5 separate regions of the Homo sapiens genome follow, and all the other regions are linked to region 3. The links are contacts of gene promoters, found by promoter capture Hi-C in blood cells and fetal thymus (Javierre and others, 2016). All regions are on one chromosome and are shown on one strand. Each heading gives the region's core, a stretch centred on a gene start or on the middle of the fragment in contact. The rest is flanking DNA. Distances are from core to core; before and after follow the strand shown.

The links. Contacts are between HindIII fragments. The CHiCAGO score rates a contact against its expected background, and 5 or more counts as called.
Region 1: a fragment that was not itself captured here is called in contact with the fragment with the promoter of PRM2 in region 3 in 2 of 17 cell types (total CD8 T cells and activated CD4 T cells); the score reaches 5.7 in total CD8 T cells.
Region 2: a contact is called between a fragment that was not itself captured here and the fragment with the promoter of PRM2 in region 3, in 9 of 17 cell types (activated CD4 T cells, erythroblasts, naive CD4 T cells and 6 more). The highest score is 13.9, in activated CD4 T cells.
Region 4: a contact is called between a fragment that was not itself captured here and the fragment with the promoter of PRM2 in region 3, in 5 of 17 cell types (activated CD4 T cells, total CD4 T cells, naive CD8 T cells and 2 more). The highest score is 13.3, in activated CD4 T cells.
Region 5: a fragment that was not itself captured here is called in contact with the fragment with the promoter of PRM2 in region 3 in 1 of 17 cell types (activated CD4 T cells); the score reaches 9.0 in activated CD4 T cells.

The regions. Positions count from the first base shown.
Region 1 is chr16:11,086,719-11,091,844 of GRCh38, reverse strand. All of the region lies in intron 19 of CLEC16A (C-type lectin domain containing 16A), which reads right to left. Among named protein-coding and RNA genes, the nearest start is that of CLEC16A, 140 kb to the right of the region's middle. RefSeq lists an enhancer at 344-433. The HindIII fragment of the contact is 1,092 bases long and covers 2,210-3,301 here.
Region 2 is chr16:11,047,188-11,052,472 of GRCh38, reverse strand. CLEC16A (C-type lectin domain containing 16A) reads right to left here. Exons shown (of 24, transcript NM_015226.3): 17 at 5,131-5,181; 18 at 832-960. Among named protein-coding and RNA genes, the nearest start is that of CLEC16A, 110 kb to the right of the region's middle. RefSeq lists enhancers at 987-1,564, 1,565-2,141. The HindIII fragment of the contact is 733 bases long and covers 1,229-1,961 here.
Region 3 is chr16:11,274,343-11,279,928 of GRCh38, reverse strand. It overlaps PRM2 (protamine 2), which reads left to right and starts at 3,449. Exons shown (of 2, transcript NM_002762.4): 1 at 3,449-3,829; 2 at 3,992-4,290. The coding sequence starts at 3,559. The coding sequence ends at 4,029. The region is part of intron 1 of LOC105371082 (a long non-coding RNA gene); the gene reads right to left. The HindIII fragment of the contact is 881 bases long and covers 3,152-4,032 here.
Region 4 is chr16:11,032,452-11,038,006 of GRCh38, reverse strand. The region is part of intron 13 of CLEC16A (C-type lectin domain containing 16A); the gene reads right to left. Among named protein-coding and RNA genes, the nearest start is that of CLEC16A, 91 kb to the right of the region's middle. The HindIII fragment of the contact is 349 bases long and covers 3,517-3,865 here.
Region 5 is chr16:11,066,682-11,071,944 of GRCh38, reverse strand. The region is part of intron 19 of CLEC16A (C-type lectin domain containing 16A); the gene reads right to left. Among named protein-coding and RNA genes, the nearest start is that of CLEC16A, 120 kb to the right of the region's middle. The HindIII fragment of the contact is 6,568 bases long and covers 1-4,677 here.

The sequences.
Region 1 (5,126 bases), core at 1,506-4,005, 190 kb after region 3:
CTCAGGCATCAAGTTCAGCTACCCGTGGGTTACCAGAAAGCCTAGCAGATCATCTGCAGCCTGAGTCATGGAACTTGAGCTTACACCTATCAGAGGCCTGCTGTGTTTCAGGCATCGTGCTCAAAGCTTTCCTGACAATTTTCCTCATTTTTCAGATGAAGGAAACCTGAGGCTCAGGTTAAGCCATGTGCTGAGGTCACCTGGTTGGCAAGCAGCAGAGGTAGCTTGAATGCTGGCGGTCAGACTCTGCGGAGTACCCATTTACCCACTAACTCTACCCATCTCCGAGCCAGCGCCCTTCCCTGTGCAGTGCCAGCCCCTCAGGACAGCCCTGCAGAGGTGGGGGAGGCCTGAGACTCAGTAGGTGCAGAAGGCTGCCAGGGCACACAGCCCCACCCGCCCTACGAGGTGAATCACAGCCTTCAGAGCATGCTCTTGCCTCTACCTGCTGCCTCTCAGGCGCCACTGGGGCCAGACCCGGGGGCATCCACCACAAAGTAAGGCTTCTTCATCAAGTGGCCGATACTGAATAGGCCTGTGAGCTTTTACTGAAAGCCACACACAACTTCCCTTTTACCCTTTGAAATAAGTGATATCATTTTCAACACCAGTTATCCATCTCCTGTGTCTTTTAATAGAAGCAGCTCATGGTGTGAGTTGGGGGAGATATAAACACAGGAGGGAAAACTGCTTACCTCACGTCTTTATGGAGAAAGGAGATTAGGCGCTTTAAAGGCAAAATCCTGGCTAGGCTTGGTGGCTCACGCCTGTAATCCCAACACCTTGGGAGGCCAAGGTGGGCGGGGTGCTTGAGCCCAGAAGTTTAAGACTAGCCTGGGCAACGTAGTGAGACCTCATCTCAAAAAATTAAAATAGGCTGGGCACCGTGGCTCATGCCTGTAATCCCAGCACTTTGGGAGGCTGAGGTGGGTGGATTACTTGAGGTCAGGAGTTCAAGACGAGCCTGGCCAACAAGGCAAGAAACCCTCTCTCTACTAAAAATACCAAAAAAAAAAAAAAAAAAAAAAAAAAATTAGCTGGGTATGGTAGCGCATGCCTGTAATCCCAGCTACTTGGGAGGCTGAGGCAGGAGAATCACTTGAACCAGGGAGGGAGAGGTTGCAGTGAGCCAAGATCACACCACTGCACTCCAGCCTGAACAACAGAGCGAGACTCTCTCTCAAAAACTAACTAAATAAAATAAAATAGAAACAAAAATCCAGAGAGCCTCCTAAAACACTGGACTGTAGATTCTCTGGACCTCCAGGCAGGATGTTAGGTAAGCGGGGAGTTGCGGAGAAATGTAATAGGAAAGTGGTCCACTGTGAAGGCTTCACACACAGGCTCCCCGGCAATGCTGCAGACAGCCATCAACATCACTCCGCTGCCTGAGGACATCTGGTATGGAAGAACTCCAGCTGGGTTGTCCATGGTCCCTTTCCTGACAATGGCCCCTAAGAATCATTCCATGAATCCACAAACACAGGAAAGTAACAGCCCATTCTTAAGCTCTTCTTCAACCCAAGAATTTCAAAGTGAAATTCTGACCACACTTGAGGTCCAGAGTTCGAGACCAGACTGGGCAACATAGCGAGTCCCTGTTTCTATTTTTTAAAAAAGTGAATGTCTGACAGCTCACTCCCATGACTGACGCAGCCTGGTCGTATGAGGCAGGTCCCCCTTCTGCGGTTCTTCCAGGGAACCAGAATGCAGGGGACGCATGATTCTACGCAATGGAGTGTTTGGTGGAGAACTAAATAAGCAAGCGTATTTCTGGGACTATTTTAAAATAAACAACGACCAAGCAGAGTTAGGAATGTCTAAACAGATATTCTGAGTGTAAAGGATGGTGGAGGTTTGAGAGAACACAGCTGTGTGGCCTCCAAACACACATGAAGGAGGCAGGAATTCCAACCGCTGGAAGCCTTTTCTGGCACCTCATTGATGAGCAAAGGCAGGGATGGAAAAAACGGAGCAGAGCACAGGGTTGACTGGTTTGGACCGGTGCCTGGCGGTGGCTGGGTGGGCCAGCCCATGCTGCGAGTCATGCCCAGCACCCCTCAGTAGGCTGCCCTATCATTCTTACAGATGCCATTTCCTGAGTCGGGCCCTTCCCTGGCCACCTGGGATATATGGGAAGAATTCCCATAGCCACTTCTGACCAGGTGACCAGGCGACCAGGTGGACATGCTCAGCAGATGGGTAAGCTTCTGCTCGTCATGCTGGCACAGATGACAAAGACCAACAGGGGCCAGTGTGGGACAGAGGGGAGGAACAGGCATTTCCCTGCGCTGTTGGCAGGAGGTTTGATGGGCAGCTTCTTTTATGGAGGGCAATTTGAGCAATTTCACAGCTAGGACTGCCTCCTGACAAAGTGCTGTGTTTGTGAACTGAGTTGCTAAAAGGCTGACCCCTCAGCGTTCTGTAACATGGACAATTGGACACAGCCAATGCATATCAACAAGGGTGATGCACAAGGGATGGTCCCTCGGGTGCTTCCATTTAATGCAATGACGGCAGATAAGCCCACCCTCATACCCTGATGTCCCGACGCAGGAAAACCCCACTTTAAAGTGCCAAAACCAAGTGCAGAACAAGATGTCCATGGTCCCATTCATGTAAAAACTACTGCTACTGTCATTCATTTAGTAAAAATTTAGTGGGTGTCTACTAAGTGCCAGGCCTGTGGCTGGGCTGGAGTGACCGTGGTGAACAAGACAGCCCGAGGCTATCCACCCAGAGGAATACGTATGTGTGCAGGTGCGAAGAGCTTGGTCCAGAAGGACACCCTCCCCCTCCCCTGAACGGAGGCTGGGAGTTCCTGCTGGAGAAGCAGGTGGCCTGGGGGGAAAGGGGGTACTGTGGGTGGCTGGGGAAATGGCAGGGCACTTTCACTTTTTACTCTACAAACTGCACTGTTTGAGCCTTTTACAATGTGAATATGTTTCTATATTACTTGGTAGCCTAACAAGTATGCCTTTAAACAACAAAAGGAAAACCCGAAATTACTAACTCAACGGCAGGACCCCCACCCGACTCAGCCCAGGACGGCGCCCACTCCATGGGTAAGTGATGGGTACAGATGGCAATAAGTAAGCCAATTTTCCAGCCAATGCTAAGGTTTTGATCTGGCAAACTTCTGGGTCCTGTGAAAGGAGCAGGGGTGCCAAGCACTGCCTCTAGCCGCACATCACAGCCCTCTCTGGAGAAGCTCTCCGCGCGTGGCTGGGGGCCTGGTGCACTTCCTGCCCGAGGCTGTGCACCAGATGGCACAAATCCCACTCCCTGAGAGCACCAAGCTTCCTACCCAGGGGTCGCCATGGGCCTTCCTTGGCGGCCTTCTTTGGGTGTGAGAAATACACCAAGGTCTTTCTGGGCCCATCCCCAACGAGGCTTTCACCCACACCCAGCTGAAGATGGTACACAGATAATGGCCCGGAAGCATCAGCCACAGCACCTGAAGCAGAAACATTTCAGATACCCTGGTGTGGGACAGACTGCCTCCCACCTGGCAAGGATGAGCTGGTTCTGTGGAGTCCTAGCTGTGGATGCTTGGGCTGGTCATGTGACCTCTCAGAGCCTCTGGCCTCAAAAGCATGAAACAAAGTTGTTAGCTGCTGCAGAAGTGCAGGAGGATTCCAGAGGATTTCTTTCATCTGATTCAGCAAGGGCCCAGTCAAGCACCTGGCACAGGGCAAGGCCACATGTGTGATCCGCACTGAGGGACTGGGGCTGTCAGCACAGAGGCCCCTTTCGAGACAGAGAGCCCCCAGCTGAGAGAAAGCTCTAACAGGGTGTTCTGTATGGAAAGAGGATCTGAAGGTAGCAAGAGCTCTGAAACTCTCAGGCTGCAGAGGCTTCAAAGGCTCTCAGACTTGTCCCAAGAGCTCCCAGGTGGAGGAGCCCAGGGCGGCTGCACAGCGGGGGAGCTCTGACCAGCTTCTCAGACACTTCCTGCCTCAAACTGGGTAGGCCTCCCCTCCCAGCCACCTTGTGTGGAAGCAGCACAGTGACCTGGCCAGCGACCTGGGCAAGCCCCGTCCTCCTCTCTGGGCCTCGGTGTACCCATGTAAAAGCTGACCGATGAGCTTGGGAACAGATGCAGAATCTGTCCAGCAGAGCTGCAGCCATTCCTGGTGATTGTGAGAAATAATTCATATCTGATTCTCCACCCTCCTGGAAGAAGTGTTGGTGAGGCAGATATAGAACTTCCTTGCCTGAGGCCAAAAAGAACCTGGGGTTGAATCCCACTTTTACTTGAATACTACTTTTACTCAAACACAGGGCTTAACCCAGCCTTCTAAACCAATGGTCTGCCAAGCAAAATCTGTCCACATTTAATATCTATAGGTAGCATAAAAAAACAAGTAGTAGTTTAGGTTTGTTCCACAAATTTAAAATTACAATACTGCATATTAAATGTGGTTTGTTAACTGCTTCACTCTCCCTGTGCTGTAGGACGAAAAGTCCAGCCTAACACCTGGGGAGGCAGGGCTTCCTCCTGGACGTGAGAGTGGGCCTGGCTCTTGGGACCGGGTCCAGGTGAGGCTCTGTGGGCAGGCAGGGGTCCCAGGGGAGCCTTAACAAGTCCACCTTGTGTGCAGACTATAGGGGGCAGCAGGTGGGGGATGGGGGTGGGGACAGGGACCTAAGATGGTTTTAGATGGCACCTACGTGAATGGTTTCTAATTTTATCTCAACCTCTATTTAGCTTCAGATGTTGTGAGAAAATACATATTTAGTTTATGGATCTCCTGATTTCACGGGTTTAGGTTTGGACTAGCTTAACTTACTCCATCTTGCCCTGACAGGGATAAATTGTGAGTACATTCAAAGAAAATTACTAAGTAAGTGATCACAAGGTTGGTTCTCTGACACGGCAAACATCTCAGGTGGTGCTGGAGGGCCTCCCCCTGAGGATTCCTGGTGCCCAGACACAGAACTGCCTCTGTCGAGCTGAGGTGACATGAACTGAATTGAAGGAGATGGGGTAGCGCTGACTTAAAAGATGACACCAGGCTCTGGAAAGGCAGGAACTGGGCATAAATGTCTCGGCTCTCAATCACCTGGGGTCAGGAGTTTGAGACCAGCCTGGACAACATGGTGAAACACCATCTCTACTAAAA
Region 2 (5,285 bases), core at 346-2,845, 230 kb after region 3:
GGAGGAAGGTTCAGACTCCTCGTGTCTGAGGTGCAAATGACAGGTCATTCCTGTTTTGCAAAATCCAAAAGTGAAACACCTCTGTCACACACGAATTAACTCAGATGATAAAGGCTGACAAGGGGAGCTGTGTGCAATGAATTCCTCTGAACTATACACAAATACTCATGTCTCCAGTGAATGATTTTCTAGGAAAAGGTGATGGTGCTTTCTAAGAAAGAAACTCTGATCTTACCCGGGAGATAAAATACCATGAACACCCCTGAGGACACTGCTTCCTAGAGTACCTGCTTCGGAAAAAAAGGGCTGATAACGGAAGCACACACTGCAGCTGGTTCTGAGAACTAATCTTTTCACACATATCTGTCCTGCAGGCTGGTGAGATTCACATTTAATTTGACTGTGTCCCAAGAGCAGGTAGATGCCTTAACATCGCACTATCTCTGGGGGTCCTGAGACCGCTGGGCTACGATTTCACACCAACCTCACCTGCACTGGATGTACCGTGCTCACCCCCGATGGTTCACAGAAAACTGGCCCCATTGCCTTACACTCCTGAGCTCAGGGCTTGTCTGTCTGCACTGGTGAAGGCTACCTCTCTGCAGCCAACACTGGGTGCCAGATGCAACGGAATGCCAAACCCTACTTCCCAAAGGGTAAAAACATGCCTTGGAAAGTCATGCCTGGGGGCAAATGGGTACTCTCTATCCACTGTCTAAGCTGTGTTGAGGGCAGGCTCTTGACTTTGACAAAGAAGCCCTTTCCTCCCTGGTCTGGGAGTGGTTCTGGAGAACAGTGGCCCAGGAGATGACAGGTCCTGTGCTCACTCACCCGCCGGGTCTTCTCCACATCGCCACACGGCAGCCGCTTCACGAAGTCAATGCCCGTCAGTGGCGTGCCTGTTGGGGGCAGCAGGATGGAGGCGTCCATCATGAGATATTCCACGTTCATGGGCTTCATCTAGAAGAGACATTACAGGAAACCTCAAAGCAGATTCCTTACTTGGAAGGAGGAAGGGGCCGGGGGAGGTTGCACAGGCCCCTCGCCTTCAACCGCATTTAGTAAATGTAAATGAGTGATCTAAATCCTGGATTTAGATTGAAGTAAAGCACAGAGGCAGCCAGATAAGGGAGCAATATGCCTTTTGGTTTTCTAAATTGCAGATTTTTCCTTTAATTGAAGCAGCAGCTCAGACTCTTGAGAAGTTGCATCCTTGCTGTGAAAAGCTTGCTCCTCTTCGCATTCTCTCTCCACCTCAGCAGGGACAGGGATTCTCAGCAGGAGGCCAGGTATGCTTTATCCCTGTGGGTGCAAGCCCGTCTGCCACCTGCTTCCTCCTCTCTGTCCTTCCAGTGATGATAACAGCTATGGCGATGGCAGCTTCCGTTTAACGAGAGCTGATTCCGCTGCAAGCTGTGACCTAAGGGCTTTTGAGGAGCTGCTTCCCACTTTGCTGATGAGGGAACACAGTCTCAGAGAAGCAGAAAAATGGATCCAAGGTCGCTCAGCTGGTGGGTGGCAGAGCCAAGACATGAGCCCAGGCCTGTCTTGCTCCAGGGCCTCTGTGATTCCCACCCTAGGACCAATGTTTCCCCTTCCTTCCTTGTCCCCTTCACATCTTACCTGGGATAATATAACACAATCATTATTGGAGCATCTACTAAGTGCCAGGCACGTGCTGGGATCACCTCCTGCTGGACGGCAGGTGCTGGTGGGCCCATCATAAAAGGGACACTGAGCTCAGAGGAGGAAAGGCGCATGCCCACGGCCACTGGGCCAGAGCTGACGGCCTCTTTCCACACCACCTCTGCGAAGCCTTCTTTGAGGACTAAGACACAGGGTGACATCCCCTCCCTGCCACCTCTCCCAGATCTCTGCTGCATCAGTAGTAGTAATCAATGCACACGTGTTGTTGAACACTAACATTTCATTTCCCTGGCTTCACAGACGAAGGGTAAGCTTTCTGCAGAATTCATTTTACTCTTTCAAACATCACAAGCTTTCCTTGTGTCTTCTCTTTTCAGAAAGTGGGCTTCAAACATACCACTTTCCCCCTCCTGCTAGGTAAAGCTGACTACATAGGGCAGGGATGTAGCGAGGGCTCAGTGGCCCAGATACCTGGTGCTATGGTTTGAACGTGTCCCCCATAGTTCATGTGTTGGAAACTTAATCCCCAGTGTGACAGTGCTGAGAGGTAGGGCCTAACAAGACGGGATTGGGTCTCATGAATGGAGTAATGTTGTTATTGCAGGTGTGGCTCAATGATGGTGAGAGTGACTTTGTTATAAGAGTGAGTTCTGTTCCCTCTTGCTCTGTCTTGCCCTTTCGCATTCTACCATGGGATGATGTGGCAAGAAGGCCGTCGCCAAATGCTGGCACCTGATATTGGACTTCCCAGCCTCTAGAACTGTAAGAAATTTCTTTTTTTTATAAATTAAGTCTGTGGTATTCTGTTATAGCTGCAGAAAACATACTGAGACACCCGGTGAATGGGCCAGAGGGCCAAGGAGCCACTTGGTGCATGCTGCTTGCCTTCTTCTTTTGGACACTTTAAGTACTTTCCTCCAGAAGCCTGAGGTCCCCCACTCCAAATCCTCTAACCCCGCAGGGGTGGCAGTTCCTGCCTCACTCATTCACTTGCAGCTCCCTTCCCCTCTACTCCTGCTGCCCCCTACAACCTTCCCAGTGAACCCCTCAGGCCTGCTGGGGGCAGAGCTAGGCCATCACCTCACTGAACCTTTTGCATTAAACCAGAGGCAATAAGGGAAATGAAGGAAAGGTCACAAGTCATGGTCTGACTTTGGTACAGCAGCTGGCCTTGGAGGGCCTGTCCCCACCCCCTTCCACTCAGAAGCTGCATTCCTGAAGGCTGAGGACTGATTTTCAGATACAGAGCAAGGGCGTGGCACCTTTGTATTTCTCTGGAATGCCAGGCATTGTATAGGACACACAATACATGTTTGATTAAAACAAACAAACAAACAAACAAACAAAAAAACCTGGGAAGCTCCCCATGGTGGGAGGGGGAGGAAGTATTTGTTGTGTATAGACCCATGAGTATTTGTTGTTGTGTATGGACCCATGAGGCCTCTTGTTGGCTATTTCATATACAGCCTGGGTGGCTATGAGGTAGGGATCCCCCACCTTACGGATTTAAAAAAAAAAATTGCCAGGTGCGGTGGCTCACGCCTGTAATTCCACCACTTTGGGAGGCCAAGGCGGGCGGATCACGAGGTCAGGGGTTTGAGACCAGCCTGGCCAGCATGGTGAAACCCCGTCTCTACTAAAAATACAAAAATTAGCTGGGCGTAGTAGTGGGCGCCTGTAATCCCAGCTACTCGGGAGGCTGAGGCAGGAGAATTGCTTGAACCCAAGAGGCAGAGGTTGCAGTGAGCCGAGAACGCACTACTTGCACTCCAGCCTGGGCGACAGAGCAAAACTCTGTTCGAAAAAAAAAAAGAAAAAAATCAAGGCTCAGAATTTCAGCAATGCACTCAAGGTTGCATTGTCAAAAGCAGACACTGAGCAGGGGTTTAAGAGCTCAAGCTTTCCCACATGGTCAAGTGCCATAGAAGCCTGACATTTCCAAACAGGAAACCAAACTGTAGGAAATGACATTGCAGGGGGATGTCTCGGGGGTAAGAGGAAATAACAAATGACAACTGAATCCCTTCCACTCTAATGAATGGTCTGAAGGGTGGAAGACTGAGCCTCTCTCGAAGGGGCTGGAGGAATGATGAGGGGCTGTAGATGAGCAGCCCACGGGGGCCTGGCACAGGGTGCTGCTGGGGTGTTTCTGGAGATGACTTATGCCAATTTACACCTTTCCCCTGAAAAGGCTCCACGGCAGCCTCAGACATGCAGTGACAAAGGACGTGGTGAGGGCCCAGCTGTCCCGATTCCTAGGGAATGGGCTGCGAAGCCAAGGAGCCAATTAGTGCACGCTGCCTTTTTCTTTTTGACACTTAAAACACTTAGGTTTATTATAAACTTCCCAAATCACACATGCTTTGGTGGGTAATATCCACAAGAAGGATCACTTATCACGTACTTATGGAGTACCTAGCCAAGGGCAGGTGCTGGGATAACAGAGACAAACGCGCAAAGCAGAGAAAGCTGGGATCTTCTGAACCTATGGCTTCCCGCGATTCTGCCTGCGGGAGGAGGAAGGAAGCCCATGTGCTGGCACTACAGACTGGAGGGAGAGCTGCATGCTGAAACATTCCAGTGGAGCAGCAAACAGGGAGGCAGGGACATAATACATGGAGAAGCACGGGGGATGCGGGGCTGGGCTGTCCTCCTCTAGAAGCGTGGCTCTGCCACTCACCGGCCGGGCAGACTTGGGTACATCACTAGACCTCTCTGACTCAGTTTCCTCATTAGCAAGTGATATGGTTTGGCTCTGTGTCCTCACCCAAATCGCACCTTGAATGGTGAGACACATGAGAATCCCCACGTGTCAAGGGCAGAACCATGTGCCGGTAACTGAATCATGGGAGCAGTTTCCCTTATACTGTTCTCATGATAGTGAGTAAGTTCTCATGAAATCTGATGGTTTTCTAAGCATCTGGCATCTTTTCTCCTTGCACTAATTCTCTCTCCTGTCACCCTGTGAAGAGGTGCCTTCCACCATGATCGTAAGTTTCCTGAGGCCTCTCCGGCAATGTGGAACTGTGAGTCAATTAAACCTCTTTTCTTTATAAATTACCCAGTCTTGGGTATTTCTGCGTAGCAGTATGAGAAGAGACTAATTCAGCAAGAAAGGGACAATGGCAGTAGCTATTACCGTTGGTTGGTGTGAGGATGAAGAGATATAATCTGTACAGCATGCTATATACATCCAGCACAGAGTAAGTCCTCAATAAAATGATACTGTCCCCAAAATTACTATTCATAGCAGAGAATCATCCTGATTCATCGGACACCTCCCATGTTAGAGGGAGAGAATATAGTCTGAAATTTTAACAGTGGTGGGGATCACAAGACACCATTCTAAATCTGCTTCCCCATCAATCTGTGCTATTTGGTCACAAAGCCCTAAGTCAAAAAACTCCCTCTGGGATGGGCAGGGGGAGCTTGGCAGGGACACAGGCGCACACCAGCCCAAGTGTGTCCCAGCCCCTCACTTACTGTCATGCTCCTATACTCATCTTCAAACATGTCCAAAAAAATGTCTTCTCCCTAAAAAGAAAGGAAGGGAGGGAAGAGGAGATTATTCATATTTTTTTCCATAAACAACAGAGTATTATAAACTCTAGTTTGTGGCTTTAGAGGCCATCTGTTTC
Region 3 (5,586 bases), core at 2,200-4,699:
AGGAAAATTAAATTCAAAACTGCTTATTCCTCACTCTGTGCCAGAAGTTTTCATCCCCATTTGGGTACAGAGATAACTTGTCCAGGTAGCAGTGGAGCTGAACTTTTCACATTTAATCAAGCACCATTAAGGAAGTCTCTTATCTGCCATCCTGTAAACTCAAACATTTTTGTTAACCACCGGTTTCTTTACTCTTTGGGGCACGGTTTCACAACGTTATGTCCACCGAAGAAACAAAGGTTAACTTGTCCATCTGGTCGGATCTAAGTCCACACTCAAGCTGCTTGATATACCACCTATACTAAAATTTCTAAGGCAAGAGTTTAAGACCCCAGTGAGATCTGGGGAAGGACATAAGAAGTCCTGCTGGGCACTGGTCTCCTTGGCTCACCCACAGCCTAAGAAAGCCCACCTCTCCGATTCCTTGACACAGGCCCTGGGTCACAGTCATTTCCTGATGGTAGAGCAAACCCAGAGCATTTTGGCAGAGACCAGAGGCTCTGAGACCCAGTTCCCTGAAGTGACAGGGCCCACCAAGCACCTCAGAAATGTCACAGTATGACTTCTGTTTATGGGACACCAACTGTGTGCCTGGTATTCTGCATACATCACTTCCTTTTTTTTTTTTTTTTGAGACAAGGTCTCTTTCTGTCACCCAGGCTAGAATAGAGTGCAGTAGCGCAAACACAGTTCACTGCAGCCTCAATCTCCTGAGCTCAAGTGATTTCCTTACCTCAGCCTCCTGGACTCCTGAGTAGCTGGGACCACAGACATGCACCACCTTGCCTGGCTAATTTTTCTAATTTTTTTGTAGAGACGAGGTCTCACTATGTTGCCCAGGCTGGTCTCAAACTCCTGGGCTCAAGCGATTCTCCTGCCTTGGCCTCCCAGAGTGCTGTGATTACAGGCATGAGCCACTGCACTCACCTACGGTGGGTATCAACAACCATGTTCTTTCAAGTGAGCACATGAGAGTTCAGTGCTAGCCCTGGCACTACCATGACCCTGATCACTTTAGCAATGACTCCCCATAACACACTCGGATCATGATAGCAGCTTGGCTGGACAGGCAGACCCCTGGGTGTGCCTTTTTTTTTTTTTTTTTTGAGATAAGGGTCTTGCTCTGTCACCCAGGCTGGAGTGCAGTGGTGTGAACGTGGCTCACTGCAGCCTTGATCTGTGCTCAAGCAATCCTCCCATCTCAGCCTCCTGAGTAGCAGGAACTACAGGCACATGCCACCATGGACCCAGGCTATTTTTTTTATTTTTTGTAGACAGAGCCCTCACTATGTTGCCCAGGGTGGTCTCAAACTCCTGGGCTCAAGTGATCTTCCCACCTCGGCCTCTCAAAGTGCTGGGATTACAGGTGTGAGCCACCACACCCAGCCCCTTCCTATGTTTATTTTATTTTATTTTATTTTTTTAGACGAAGTTTCGCCCTTGTTGCCGAGGCTGGAGCGCAATGGTGCCATCTCAGCTCACTGCAACCTCTGCCTCCTGGGTTCAAGCAATTCTCCTGCCTCAGCCTCCTGAGTAGCTGGGATTACAGGCGCCCGCCACCACTCCCGGCTAATTTTTGTATATTTAGTAGAGACAGGGTTTCACCATGTTGACTAGGCTGGTCTTGAACTTCTGACCTCAGGTGATCCACCCGCCTCAGCCTCCCAAAGTGCTACGATTACAGGTGTGAGCCACCGAGCCCTGCCCCGCCCCTTCTTATTTTCATCTGCAAGCTTTGGCCATGGAGATTTGACTTAGCGGGACGTAGGGTAAGGCCTCAGCATTCATATTTTTAACACGCGCCCTCGAAGAGCTTGAGGGCCATCATAAAGGACCTTCTTATCCCTAAAGAGAGGCAGCATAGAAACACCAAGGGCATGGCAATATCACCCATCACCTCCTGTAAGGATCTGAAGATTAAGCCTCCTGAATTTGTTTCTTATTGCCACTGTGACAGATCATCACAAATTTTGTAGCTTTAAACAACATAAATGCATTATCTTACAGGTCTGCAGGTCAGAATTCTGAAAGAAGTCTCATGGGGCTAAAATCAAGGGGTCAGCAGGGCTGTGTTCCTCCTGGATGCACGAGGGGAGGATAACCCATTTCCTTGTCCATCCCAGCTTCTAGAGGCCGCCTGCATCCCTTGGCTTATAGCCTCTCCCTCCATCTTCAAAGCCAGCAGTGTGGTGTCTCCCAGTTTCTCTTCCTGTGACCCTCCTGCCTCCCTATTCTCTCTTCTAAGGACCCTCGTGACTGCACTGGGCCAACCCAGATCATCTGGGATGATCTCTGCATCTTCAAGTCCTTAAATTTGTGTATCTGCCACATTCCCACATTCTCCCTGCCCTCCATGAAAGGGAAACTGGTTTTGCAGTTTCTGTGATTCTGATCCCGGACTTTAATGGGATCATCAAAGTTCAATGAGAAGCCCCGGCAAGGCCGAGCGGGAGGGGAGAAGATGAATATTTTGGAGGCGGAGAGGGGAGCATTCCCTGGGCTAGGGAGGAGGTGGAGAGCCAAGGGTATGACTAAAACCAGGCTGTCTCCGTCTGAATGCTGGCCCGGCCTGGCCTTCTCAGCAGAGTGGCCTTGAGCAACTCAACTTCTTCATGCCTGTTTGCCCCACAGAAAATGAGGATTGTAAGAGTGAGGAATGCAAGGGTGGTGGCTCACACCTGTAATCCCAGCACTCTGGGAGGCCGACATGGGAGGCTCACTGAGGCCAGGAGTGTGAGACCAGCCAGGGCAACATGGTGAAACCCTATCTATCTCCACAAAAAATACAAAAAATTAGCTGGGAGTGGCAGCACACGCCTATAGTCCCAGCTACTCGGGAGGCTGAGGTGGCAGGATCATCTGAGCTGGAGGGGTAGAGGCTGCTATGATCCATGATTGCACAACTGCACTCCAGCCTGGGCGACAGACAGTGCCTCAAAACAAAAAGAGGAGAGAGAGAGAGAGAGAGAGAGAGAGAGAGAATGAGTGAATGTATGGGAAATAAATGAATCAATGCTTGGCACATAGGAGCTATTAGGGAACTGTTTGCTGCTGTTGCCATCTTAACAGTAAGCTGTGTGCACAGAGATCCAAGCACGGAAGTCCCTTCCACATGGTGGCTGTGGCACAGCAGTGAGTTGGCAAGGAAGCTTCCAAATGACAATGTGCGCACCCACCGGCTTGGGGAGATGAGGGCTTGGATTAGGCAATAAAACACCTGCCATCTGTATGGTTCACCTACTGCAAGAGACAGAGGACATGCTTTACAGGCAAGGCAAGGGGGTCTCTCGCCCTTCCAGCCCTGCAGCTTGGGTGCCAGGGCCCTGCTAGTTGTGACCCCTGGCCCTGTGCTGCCCTCACAGAGGAGGCTGGGCAGGGTGGGGACTGGGCGGGGCCGCAGAGTCATAGTGGGCGCCCCCTTTATATACAAGCTCCCGGGGAGCCTTGCAGACCAGACCAACAGTAACACCAAGGGCAGGTGGGCAGGCCTCCGCCCTCCTCCCCTACTCCAGGGCCCACTGCAGCCTCAGCCCAGGAGCCACCAGATCTCCCAACACCATGGTCCGATACCGCGTGAGGAGCCTGAGCGAACGCTCGCACGAGGTGTACAGGCAGCAGTTGCATGGGCAAGAGCAAGGACACCACGGCCAAGAGGAGCAAGGGCTGAGCCCGGAGCACGTCGAGGTCTACGAGAGGACCCATGGCCAGTCTCACTATAGGCGCAGACACTGCTCTCGAAGGAGGCTGCACCGGATCCACAGGCGGCAGCATCGCTCCTGCAGAAGGCGCAAAAGACGCTCCTGCAGGCACCGGAGGAGGCATCGCAGAGGTCTGCCTGCGCCCCCGCCTTGCCCTGCATGTCCCTGACCACCCCAGGCACAGGAGGGAGGCGGGGACCCACCCCACCTGACAAAAGCTCCAGCCCCCTAACCCCCGTCCCCACCCAGAGTCCCTAGGTGACCCCCTCAACCAGAACTTTCTTTCCCAAAAGGCTGCAGAACCAGGAAGAGAACATGCAGAAGGCACTAAGCTTCCTGGGCCCCTCACCCCCAGCTGGAAATTAAGAAAAAGTCGCCCGAAACACCAAGTGAGGCCATAGCAATTCCCCTACATCAAATGCTCAAGCCCCCAGCTGGAAGTTAAGAGAAAGTCACCTGCCCAAGAAACACCGAGTGAGGCCATAGCAACTCCCCTACATCAAATGCTCAAGCCCTGAGTTGCCGCCGAGAAGCCCACAAGATCTGAGTGAAACGAGCAAAAGTCACCTGCCCAATAAAGCTTGACAAGACACTCGCTGGCCTGTCGGGTTTTCTTTGCACGAATCACACAAACCTGGCTTCCCTCACGCCCAGGGCGGGTAGAGGCTTCTCTGCAGCCCTTCCTCAGAGGCAGGTAGGGCGGGAGTTCTGATGCTCTCAGGACACCTAGGAGAGGGTTACTGTGCCTGGGAGGCCACCCTATGATGCTGTCCTGTCTATTGTGCATCCTTCCATGGTGTCAAAGGCCACATTAGTCTGTCTGGATCCCCCTCCAGTGAAGAACCTGATCCTACCTCATGAAAGGAGAAAATGGTTAGAACAGATCGAGTCCTAATTAAGTCACAAAGATGCCAAGGCACCTTGTGGCCATATTTAAATGCCTACTGTGTGCCACAGTTTAAAAACACAACCCATCTTGAGTGTTGGGTGGTTGGAAGTGTAAACGGTGGGGGCAGAGGTGGGGGCACTGCTCAGTGCAGGCCACAGCTTCGAGGTGGGAAACAGGTCTGGCATGCTCCAGCAACAACTTGGTCAGCACAGAGACGGCAAAAGGCAAGGAGTAGATGAATGCAGAGTAATGGGCTGCGCTGTGTGAGGCCTGTGCTGGCTGAAGCCTCTGGAGACCCAGGCAGAATCCGATCCTTGTTGCCTGCTCTCCTCGGCCTGTGGCTGCATCACTCCTCCCTCCTGTCTGAAATCAAGGACCCTTGTGATTGCACTGAGGGACTTTCTGGACAACCCAAGATAACCTCCCCATCTCACAATCCTTACATCATAGATTCCAGGATCAGGAAGGGGGCACTTCGGAGAGTGCCAACCTTAGCCAACCATAGCCACTGAGGACTGGGGGGATAAGACTGGCAAGATCCAATCCATATGTTGGCAAATGGATTTCTGGTGCTCAGAAATGACCAATCTTTAGGAAGCAACGAGTTTCTGAAAACAAAACAACAACAACAAAAAAAAAAACAGACGGAGTTTCGCTCTTGTCACTGGGGCGGTGTGCAGTGGTGCGATCTTGGCTCACTGCAACCTGCACCTCCTATGTTCAACTGATTCTCCTCCCTAACCTCCTGAGTAGCTGAAGGAGCTAAACAAATTTTTTTTTTTTTTTTTTTTTGGTATTTTTAGTAAAGACATGGTTTCACGATGTTGGCCAGGCTGGTCTCGAACTTCTGACCTCAGATGATCTGCCTGCCTCGCCTCCCAAAGTGCTGGGATTACAGGTGTGAGCCACCACGCCTGGCCTCAAAAAATTTATATTTAAAAAATACCATTGCAGTGTACAAACGACTCATTTCAATGTATAAAAGACAAAGTCCTAAAC
Region 4 (5,555 bases), core at 2,442-4,941, 240 kb after region 3:
ATTGCAGTGAAAATTTAATTTGTGGCTTCTGTATCCCATGTTAATGCTAAATGTGTAACTCTGAAGGATTCTGGCTTATTGAATGGCAAGAAGAATGTCAACTGAATCTTTCTGGCATTTGTTTTTTCCAGAGATGTTAACACTGTCCTAACATCTCTCTACTCGTTAATTTCTGGCCCTTTGAGAACTGCCAGTCAGTGGTTCTGGGGGTGGGGGTGGGGGTGGGGGTGGGGAATAAAAGCTCCTCTGTGTCCCAGGTGCATTGCCCAACTTTATAACCCATCAGCAGTCACTCCGCTTCAGAGAGGATAGCAGAAAGGGCCTGGCTGCTCGCTCCTTCTAGAATGGGGCAGTGGCCACAGAACCATGGAAAGAGGCAAACTAGGACCAGGCCTTGAATTTCCAGAGAGAGGTCCATTTTGTTTCTTTCCTATCATTGCCCCTCCGTCTCCTTAGAATTTGTGGACAGTGAGGAAATCTGGGGCAAGCTCTTTTCTTGACAGGAAGAAAAGCGTCCCAAGATGATCTCGACTTTTCTCAACTCTCCGTGAAGGGAAGGTCCCAGAGGATAGAAACACTTCTCTCTGTACCAGGTTCCAAGTCCAGCCTTTTCCTTTCATGAGGAAGTTAAGGCCCAGAGTTGTTATGTTGTTTCCCCAAGGTCACAGAGCAAGTCAGAGACACAGCTCAAACCACTTTCAGGTGATCCCGAAGGTGGGTGGGGTCCAAATGGGAAAGGGTGGCAGCACCCACACAGCCAGCCCACCAGGAGCACACAGGGGGCCCGTCCTCTTGGGCTGACAAAAGCCACCCCTCTGTGTCCCTGGGCTCACCCTCTCTTAGGGGGACAGCTGGGTACAGCAGGAATGAGAAGCCTAGCGGTGGGGTGCGGGAGGAACTTTGTTTTGATACTTTACCTCTTTGAACCTCAGTTTCCTCACCTGTGAAGTGGGAATAATTATGGTAACTACCCGCCCCACGACTGCTGTCAGGATCGAAAGAGAAAAAGCACTGTCACAGGCCAACAACTTTATCTCTCATTATTATGCACAAATGGGAATTTTTAGTTTGAGCACTGCTTAATGCATGGATGAGAATTTTTAGTTTGAGCATGACTTCATGTGTTTCCTTATCATTCGTGTTATAAAAGGAAAGTTAGGCCGGGCACGGTGGCTCATGTTTTTAATACCAGCACTTTGGGAGGCCAAGGTGGGCAGATCGCCTGAGGTCAGGAGTTTGAGATCAGCCTGGCCAATGTGGTGAAACCCCGTCTCTACTAAAAATACAAAAATTAGCTGGGTGTAGTGCACATGCCTGTAGTACCAGCTACTTGAGAGGCTCAGAAATGAGAATTGCTTGAACCCAGGAGGCGGAGGTTGCAGTGGGCTGAGACTGCGCCACTGCAGTCCAGCCTGGGTGACAGAGCGAGACTCTTGTCTCAAAAAAAAAAAAAAAAAAAAAAGGAAAATTAGAACAAAAGAACACAAGGATAAAACCTAACAAGAGCTAAATCAAGCTACAGACAGCCCAAAAGAGGCATGCTGAGCTGCTGGGGGCCCCTCTCAGGGGGCGAGCTGCTCAGGTTGGATCCTAAAGGATGAACAGGAGTTTGCCTTGAACTGGACAGGGAGGGCCAGGACTTGCCAAACCAAGGTGGGACTGCAGGGAGTGGAGCAGACCCAGAGAGGTCTGGGTGGGAGAGAGCCGGGGAGGGGGTGATGAGGTGGAGGATGGGGGAAGGGACAGGCAAGGCTTCGTGCCAGGATCCTGGAGGGTGATGCAGTGGAGGGGCCCAGGAGAGGCAGCTAGCGGGCCGTAACATAATCTGGTTGTGCCCTGGCTGACTGGGGTGGTTCCATTCCCCTGACTGTTCCAAGTGGTCTCCATGCTTCCGGCCCTTTACCCCAAACTGACCTGCTAGTGCCATGCAGTCCATGTGAGGTAGATTTTACCACCAGCCCTGGGAGGCAGAGAGCAGAGGTGATTCCACACAGCACACGGCAAAACTATATAACAGAAACCCCTCTGAACATCTCCCTTCTTTCCCCAAAGCTCCTTCTGGGCCAGGGGCCCCATTCTCTCTCCCAGCTCTTTTTCCCACCATGGCCTTTAAAATCCTCTCTTTGACTCCAACTATCCAGTGTTTTGAAGGAGGCCTTATCATTTACCAAAATACTCAGTCAAAACAAACAAACAACAACAAAATCACCAGTCTCTCTGGGGAAGGACAGAGTGTCTTTGGAAGGAAGGAGGAGAGGATTCTGCTAAGATGACAAGATTGCCTTCGCATGGTAAGCTCTGAAGAAATGGTGACCATCAGCCAGGCATATGACGTAGAATGCTTCATTTCATCCTCATGACATTCCATGAAGTGGCTAATAGTATTTCCATTTTATAGACGAGGAAGCTGAGGCTCAAAAAAGACATGAGCTTGCCTGGGGTCATGTGGAGAGTGGAAAGCCCAGCCCTGAATGCAGCCATGTGGCTCTTACCTCCCTCCTCTCTGCCGTGTACCATGATCCCCGCTGGTTAACGCTCTTTCCCTCCACCTTCCCAAGCTATGTATGTCATGTGATCTAGTGGTGTTCTTGGCACAAACACAACAGTCCATACATTTTTGCTGAATTAATTTTTTAAAAAGTTAAGTAGTTTTGATCAAATTTCGGGCAGAAGATTAGACAAATCTCAAAATGAAGGGGAAACATACGTAAAATAGAAGCCACCATATGACAGCTGTGCAAAAAAGCCCAACCATCACCCACACAGAAAACATGCTAGAAAGAAATACGACACTGTCAGCAGTTGGTTATTTTAAGGTGGTACTATCAAAGGCAAGTGAAAAAGCAACTTATTCTCATTTTTGTTTTCTATAACAATCATTGCATGACCATCACTGTACTTAGGATGGCATTTAATTTGTGGCGAACATTAGATTTAGGTTTAAGCCTCCTGCCTGAAACAACCTGGTGGCTGATGGTTCTGAGTGGCTAAGGTCAATGTCACCCTGTAACAGGGGCATGCATGTGAAAGGTAAGACGGCTCCTGTGTGCAAGGACATACACACAAACACACACACACACTCATACACACACAGACACTCATTCACACACGCATGCATACCCCGTGGTTTTTGGTCACAGAAAGGCAGGTTTTGCTGCAAACCCAATAGCTTCTTTGCCAGTCATTTCCCTCTGACAGAAATAAACACTGTGGATAATATATTATCCTATTTGCTTCAACTCTTAAGTGCTTTGTGACAGACAAATTCCAAAGAAACCCTGCTGCACTTCACGGGAGCACTAGCTCATTCTGGCTTCCAGCAGACCACATGTTCCCTGCCCCGCCCACAGCCCTGCCTTAGGGGTCAGAGCCTGAGCTGCCCACCGACTCAGAACGGGTGTCCCCTGTCCACCCGTGGACAGGGGTGGAGGGCGGAACTCTCAACTAACTCATTCAAAGAATCCAAAACAGAAGGGAAGGGTGTGGCCCCACAGTGTCAGTAACTCTTACTAAGCTTCCCTCTCAGTTCTGATATCTGGATTCTTCCCCCTTAGTAGTAGCCCCCATTTAGGGTAGAGAGGTAAAAGACCCAGACCAAAGATGCATAAGAATAATTAGACAGATCTGGATAAAGACACCACGAGAACACCAGGTAAACAGTTCAAACTTTTTAAAAACGTCTGTTGACCACACAAAGTCTCCTTGGCTGCAGTCACACAAGTATTACCAGCTTTGGAAGACTATAGACCAAAGATTTCGAAAGCTAACCAGATGTTGGGCCGATTTCCAATGTACTTCTAATTCTGGTTATGTGTCAGCCAAGATCCAAACTGACGTTGTGCAAGTTCTCCGCATGGCAAAAGCTTCCCTTTAGCCTATTACCTTTCAACCTTTTCCATATCGCTCATCCATGTTCCATTAACTTCTCAGCAAAACAAAACACAAAACACAAAGAGCCCAAGACTCCTTCTTCCTGGGTAAACAATGACAAATGGAGTGGCAGGAGTAGAAGGTTGGTCACTGAACTGGGGAACCTTCAAGATACAAAAGCTGTAAAACTCACCCCCATCCCTCCACCTCTGGCCCAGGACTCAGCGGACTTGATAGAAGAGCGAAGGCTGCATTTTCTATTACAGAAACAAACCAGAATTCATTATGTGGCCCAACTGAATCACAACAAGCGCCTTCCGCCAACCGGTCAACCCTTTCCACTGTGGGATATTCATTTCGGTGCAGCATCTAATCTATTATGATTACTGGAAGGCCTGAGCTCACATTTGGTTTTTATGAACGTGGCTTTTATGTTAAAATTGACTATGAGGAAAAAATCTATGAGAAAGAGACCAGGTCACTTGGGACCTGATTTGGGGGGTAAGGATCTGGAAAAGTGAGGCTGAAGGTCAAGTGCAGCCTGATCAGCTGCTGCATAACCAAAAACCAATCACTCAACCAACCTCCACCAGCAAAGCCCCACCAAATGCAGACTCTGTGCTCACAGGCCAGGACTGAGCATAAACCAGGTGGCAGCTCCCCCACGAGGCAGCTTCCCCAGGCACCTGGGCCTCAGGGCACCGGACTTGAACTTTTCCGTTTCTTCTCCAAACCTACTCCAAGGCCCATGCTTGTTAGTTCTGGAAATGGCACTATTGGTCACACAGGGAAAGGAGTCAGGAACCTGAGCCTTACCCAGGCTCCTCCCTTCATGCCCCCTCCTTTCAAATCAACCAGAACCCCTCACCCCTAGCCTAGTGACTCTCCTTGTCTCCTCATCCTAGTAAATGCACCCCCACCATTGCTCAAGCCAAATCACAGGAGTCATCTGACTCGTCCCTTTCACTCGACCCCTACATTCAATCCATCAGCACGTCCTGGCTCTAGCGCTGAAATAATCACAAGTCCTTCCAGTTTCCTCTACTCCCCAGCCAGCAGCCTAATCCAATCCACATTATCTCGCCTGGATGACTGCAACAGCTTCTTAGCAAGTCTCTCGGTGTTCCCTCCTGCAACTCATCCCCACCCCCAGTCATCTACTTTCTGTCTGGTAGCCAACGTTTCTTTTAAAAACTTCCATCTGACCACATCACTGTCCTACTTAAAAATTCGGTAGGGGTTTCCCATTGCACTTGGAGAAAAAATGGCAATTCCTCTTCAGGGCCTTCAAGGCCCTTCATGACCTGGCCCCTGCCCGCCTGGCCAGCCTCACCTTGGCCCACTTTCTGCTCCTTCCCACCCCGGGGCCTCTGTACATGCTGCTCCCTTCACCTGGAGGACTCTTGCCCCAGGTCTTTGCAGAGCTGGCTCCTTCTCACTCTCTGGGCTGTGGCTCTGCTGGTCCTTCCTCAGAGGAGCCCTCCCCGACCACCCTGACTAGCACCTAGTAACCCCTGCAGCACAACCACTAGGCTTCCTCATCACTCCACCCTGTTCATTTCCTTCTACCATTTGTCACAGTCACAATTAATCTTCTTGTTCACTTCAGTGAGACTCATCTGGGCTTGTTTGAGTGCCTATGACGGGGCCTTGCCCTGGCAAGCGCTCAGCAAGTATCTGCTGAA
Region 5 (5,263 bases), core at 144-2,643, 210 kb after region 3:
AACATACTCCCACAGAACCACAATGGCATTATCACACTCAAGAAAGATAATATTAGCCAGGCCAGGGGTTCTGCCTGTAGTCCCAGCTACTTAGGAGGCTGAAGTAGGACTGCTTGAGCCCAGGGGTTCAAGACCAGCCTGGGCAACACAGCGAAACCTCATCTTAAAAAAAAAAAAAAAAAAAAAAAAAATCAGCCAGGTGTGGTGGTGCACATCTGTAGTCCCAGCTAGTCAAGAGGCTAAGGTGGGATGATCACTTCAGCCCAGGAGTTTCAGGTTGCAATACTGCACTCCAGCCTGGGTAACACAGCAAGATCCCATCTCTTAAAAAAAAAAAAAAAAAAGAAACGTAATATTGACCTCAATTATATTACTCAATCACAATCCATATGCAAATGTCTTCAGTTTGCAGAAAAATGTCCTTTAAGGCTACTTTTCCCCCTCAATCTAAGATCAATCCAGGCTGACAACTGTCATGTCACTTTGTTTCAATTATCTAGAAACAGTACCCCTCTACCTTCGTCCCCCTCTTTTTTGGTCTTCCACAACATTTACATTCTTGAAAAACTCAGGTCGGCTGTCTTCTAGAATGTTCCGTATTCTGGATTTGTTTTTCATTGTCTTTCTCATTTATGCCACTCATTTTCACTAGGATGAGAGGCACATGACAATGCCTGGGTCATCAGCAAAATAAGCCAACACAGAGAATTTTCCAGAACTGACAGGACCACAAAACTAGTACTGGTTTTACAAGAGAAAGAAATCAATGAGCTCACATTTTCACAGACTGACAGTCAAACCACATACTTGCTTGGGGAGCTTCATAATACTTTTGCTGGAAACGAATCTCCAGGCAATCCGATGAAAATAGCCAGGGACTTCCACTCTGCCTAAAAGCTCTTGTCTGCAAAGAAGCTGGGGCGAAGCACGCAGAATGCTAGGAAGTTGGATCCTGCAGAATCTTTATGATATTCACATTAATCCGCAAATGAAGAATAAACAAACAGGGCGATGTGGTCAGGATTTCAAACATGGAGCAAGAATTTGGGGTACGGTTTTCGTGTGTGAGCTTTCATGGGCCTCGTGGTGCCCTCCAGTGTACTTGTGCTAGGGAACAAATGGTTTGCAGGTTGGGGTTGGTAAGAAGGCACAGTCAGAGCAAAGACTCTGAGGTGGGTACATGCCAGGTGTGTTTGAAGAAGAGCAAGGAGGCAGAGACAGGGAGGTGGTGTCACATAATAAGCCTCAGGGGTAAAGGTCTCTGTTTTTTATTCAGACTGGCATGGGAGCCCACTTTGAACAAATGAAGAACATGATCTGGCTTCTCGTTTAAAAGGAAGACAGTTCATGCTGCTGAGAATAAACTCTAGGGGACAAAACAGAAGCAAGTGACTGGGCAAGAGACTACTGCAATAATTCAGGTAAAAGATAATGGCACAGCTGGGTGCAATGGCTCATGAATGTAATCCCAGCACCTTGGGAGGCCAAGATAAGAGGAATGCTTGAGCACAGGAGTTTGAGACCAGCCTGGGCAACATAGTGAGATCCCATCTCTAGCTTAAAAAAAAAAAAAAAGGCCGGGTGCAGTGGCTCACGCCTGTAATCTCAACACTTTGGGAGGCCGAGGCGGGCGGATCACGAGGTCAGGAGATCGTGACCATCCTGGCTACACAGTGAAACCCTGTCTCTACTAAAAATACAAAAAAATTAGCTGGGCGTGGTGGCACGCGCCTGTAGTCCCAGCTACTCGGGAGGCTGAGGCAGGAGAATGGTGTGAACCCGGGAGGCGGAGCTTGCAGTGAGTGGAGATTGCGCCACTGCACTCCAGCCTGGGCAATAGGGTGAGACTCCGTCTCAAAAAAAAAAAAAATGGTGGCAGTTCAAACAAGGTGCTGGGAGAAGCTGGGAGAGAAGGTAACATCCTGACAATACAGTCGTCCCTCCATATCCATGGGGACTGGTTCCAGAACCCCTCAGAGGACACCAGAATCCACAGATGCTCAAGTCCTTCATATAAAATGGTGTCGTATTTGCATATAACCTATGCACATCCTACCACACACTTTAAACCATCTCTAGATTACTTATAATAACTCATACAATGAGATGGCTATGTAAATAGTTGTTATGCTGTACTGTTTTTAAAATCTGCTCATTTTGCATGGTTGTATTTTTTTGTTGTTGTTTTTTAAAAATATTTTCAGTCTGGGTATGGTGGCTCATGCCTATAATCCTGGCACTTTGGGAAGCTGAGGCGGGAGGATCGCTTAAGCTCAGGAACTTGAGACCAGCCTGGGCAACATAGTGAGACCCTGTCTCTACAAAAGATTAAAAAAAAAATCAGCTGGACATGGTGGCACGAAACTGTGATCTCAGTTACTCAGGAGGCTGAGGCAGCAGTAGGATTGCTTGAGCCTGGGAGTTGGAGGCGGCAATGAGCTATGATTGCACCATTGTATTCCAGCTTGGACGACAGAGCGAGACCTTGTATAAAAAAAAAAATAGTAATAATAATAGGCCAGACACAGTGACTCATGCCTATAATCCCAATACTTTGGGAGGCCAAGGTGGGTGGATTGCTTGAGCAGAGGAGTTTGAGACCAGCCTGGGCAACATAGTGAAACCCTGTCTCTACAAAATATACAAAATCTCAGCCGGGTGTGGTGGTGCATGCCTGTAGTCCCAGTTATTTGGGAAGCTGAGGTGGGAGAATCACCCTAGCCTGGGAAGTTGGGGCTGCACTGAGCCGTGATTATACCACTGTACTTCATCCTGGGCAACAGAGTGAAACCCTGTCTCAAAATAAATAAATGGCCAGGCACAATGGCTCATGCCTGTAATCCCAGCACTTTGGGATACCAAGGCAGGCGGACTATTTGAGGCCAGGAGTTTGAGACCAGCATGGCCAACATGGTGTAACCCCATGTCTACTAAAAATACAAAAAAAAAAAAAAAAAAGAAAATTAGCCAGGCGTGATGGCATGCACCTGTAATCCCAGCTACTCGGGAGGCTGACACATGAGAATTGCTTGAATCTGGGAGGTGGAGCTTGCAGCGAGCCGAGATTGTGCCTCTGCACTCCAGCCTAGATGAAAGAGCGAGACTCTGTCTCAAAAAATAAATAAATTTTAAAAATTAAATAAAAATAGAAATGTTTTCAATCTGTGGTTGGTTGAATCTTCAGATGCAGAACCTGAGGACACATAGGGCTGACTGTATTTTGCGGCAGAGGCTGAATAGGTCTGCTGACCAACTGGAAGTTGAGCTTGAGAGAAAGAGGGGAGTCAGGGATGAGCCTGTGGTTTTTGCCACCAGCATGGAACTGCCATCAACTGTCTGGAAGCCTGCAGGGAGACAGGTTTTGTGGGAAAGCTCACATCTTGTGTTTGTGGTAACCAAGAAATGTTGGGCAGGTAGCTGAGTACACAGGTCTGGAGTTCAGCAGAGACTCTAGCAGCTGGGAGAAGGGTTCACTCCCATGAAGAGGAGCAACTGACTGCTGCCTGTGGGGATGCAGGCTCTGCGTGGACAGACTGTCACTGTCTCATATTCAAGGTGATAGCTAGGTTTTTACGATAAAATATCCTGATTTTAAAACATTAGCAACATAAAATTCGCTTGCAAATGCTTTACTAGCCATGAAGCTACATTTGTGGGCCCACCTGCCTGAGGACCAGCTGTTTGCAACCTCTATATCCACCTTATTGTTCTGCCTTACAATAACCCTGCAAAGTTGGGCATCGCTGTTCTCATTTGATCAATGAGGGAACTAAAGCACAGAGAGGGGAATAGATTTGTCCAAAGTCACATGGCTAGGAAGAAGCATGGCTGAGATTCGGTCTGCATTTGTCTAGGATCCAAGGCTTCCTCCATAACCGCAGCCTGACTTTTAAACAGGCAAGTCCTGGCCTGGAAACAGCCAGAAGGAGAGCAAAGGGAAGGTCCACAGCAGCCTGCCTTGCCAGGAGGTGAATACAACCCAAATAGTTGGGTTGTTGTTAATAATTAGCTTCAAAGGTACGACGGTTTGGAGAACACGCCGGATCCAACTGGATGGACCTCTGTGCAATAAAAGCCCCTGTACCTAGGCCACAGAGTGGACAGAGCAGCATTCAAGACAAGTCTCTGGGGCAAACCAGACTGTCCGAGCCTGGTGTGGATGCCAGCTTGTGGACACCACCTCTTAGTTCATGCCTTGTAGGCCTGGCCTCCCCATGGGGCTCCCTGCTGTAATGCTGCCCTGACCCATAAATCTCTTCCACTGAGGCCAGAGAGGGCCTTTTGAGATACAAATCTGATCACATCAGCTAGGTAAAAACTTTTCTCACTGTTTTTAAGATAGAACCCTGAACACTTGATATGCCCACAGGGCCTGCATGGCTTCCTACCCAGCCTCATCTTGCCAACCACCTTCACCCTCCCACTCCCCGACTCTGTGGCCACACTGCCGTCTCTCATCTTCCCCAAATCCCCATCGGCCCCAGGGCCTTTGCTTCTTCTGCGCCACTTCTCGGCACCCACACCCCCCCTGCAGCCCTCAAATGGGCCCCTCCTTCAGAAGCCTCCCTGACCTCCAGCCAGGTTAAACCCCGTCACCTGCTCTTAGAACAGGAAACACGGTGGTCATCTGAGTTTGATCTGTGCTGCTGTGATTGGAGTTTGCCTTCCCCATAAGCTTGGAAAGACAGAGTCACTGGCTTTTGCTAGAGTAATTGGTCTGCACTTGCTTTTTTTAAAAAAAAAAAAAAAAAAAAACAAAAACAAACAAAAAAAAAACCAAAAAAAAAACCCCCACAACAACAACAAACCCACTCCCCATTAAAGCACAGTATGTGTGTATACAGTTGCCACTACTGTTTCTTGGAAAGACTACCCTCGTTCTGAAATGATGTGCTACCTACTCAATATTAACAATGTCTTTTCTTTTATGGAATGATTGTTCATAAATGCTTTTTTTAAAAATGACTACTCGGTAAACAAACAAAAGTTGGCGATCCGTCCCCAAAAGCTTTGTTTTTTATTTTTGTTTTGATGCTTTTCTGGGCTATGAAATCCTAAGGGCTGGGACCTACTGTTCTGTACTTGATGAGTATTTTCCAGGCCCCCAGACCCTGGGAAGTATGTTCAAGCCTGGGAGAGCACTCACACCCAGTGTACAGAGGTCTGCTTATTCACAGACGTTTCTCTGCAGGTTTCAGGACTTCCCTTACACACCACATGATCTAACACACTGTCGCGAGGATCTTTTGAGGAACAGCCAGCT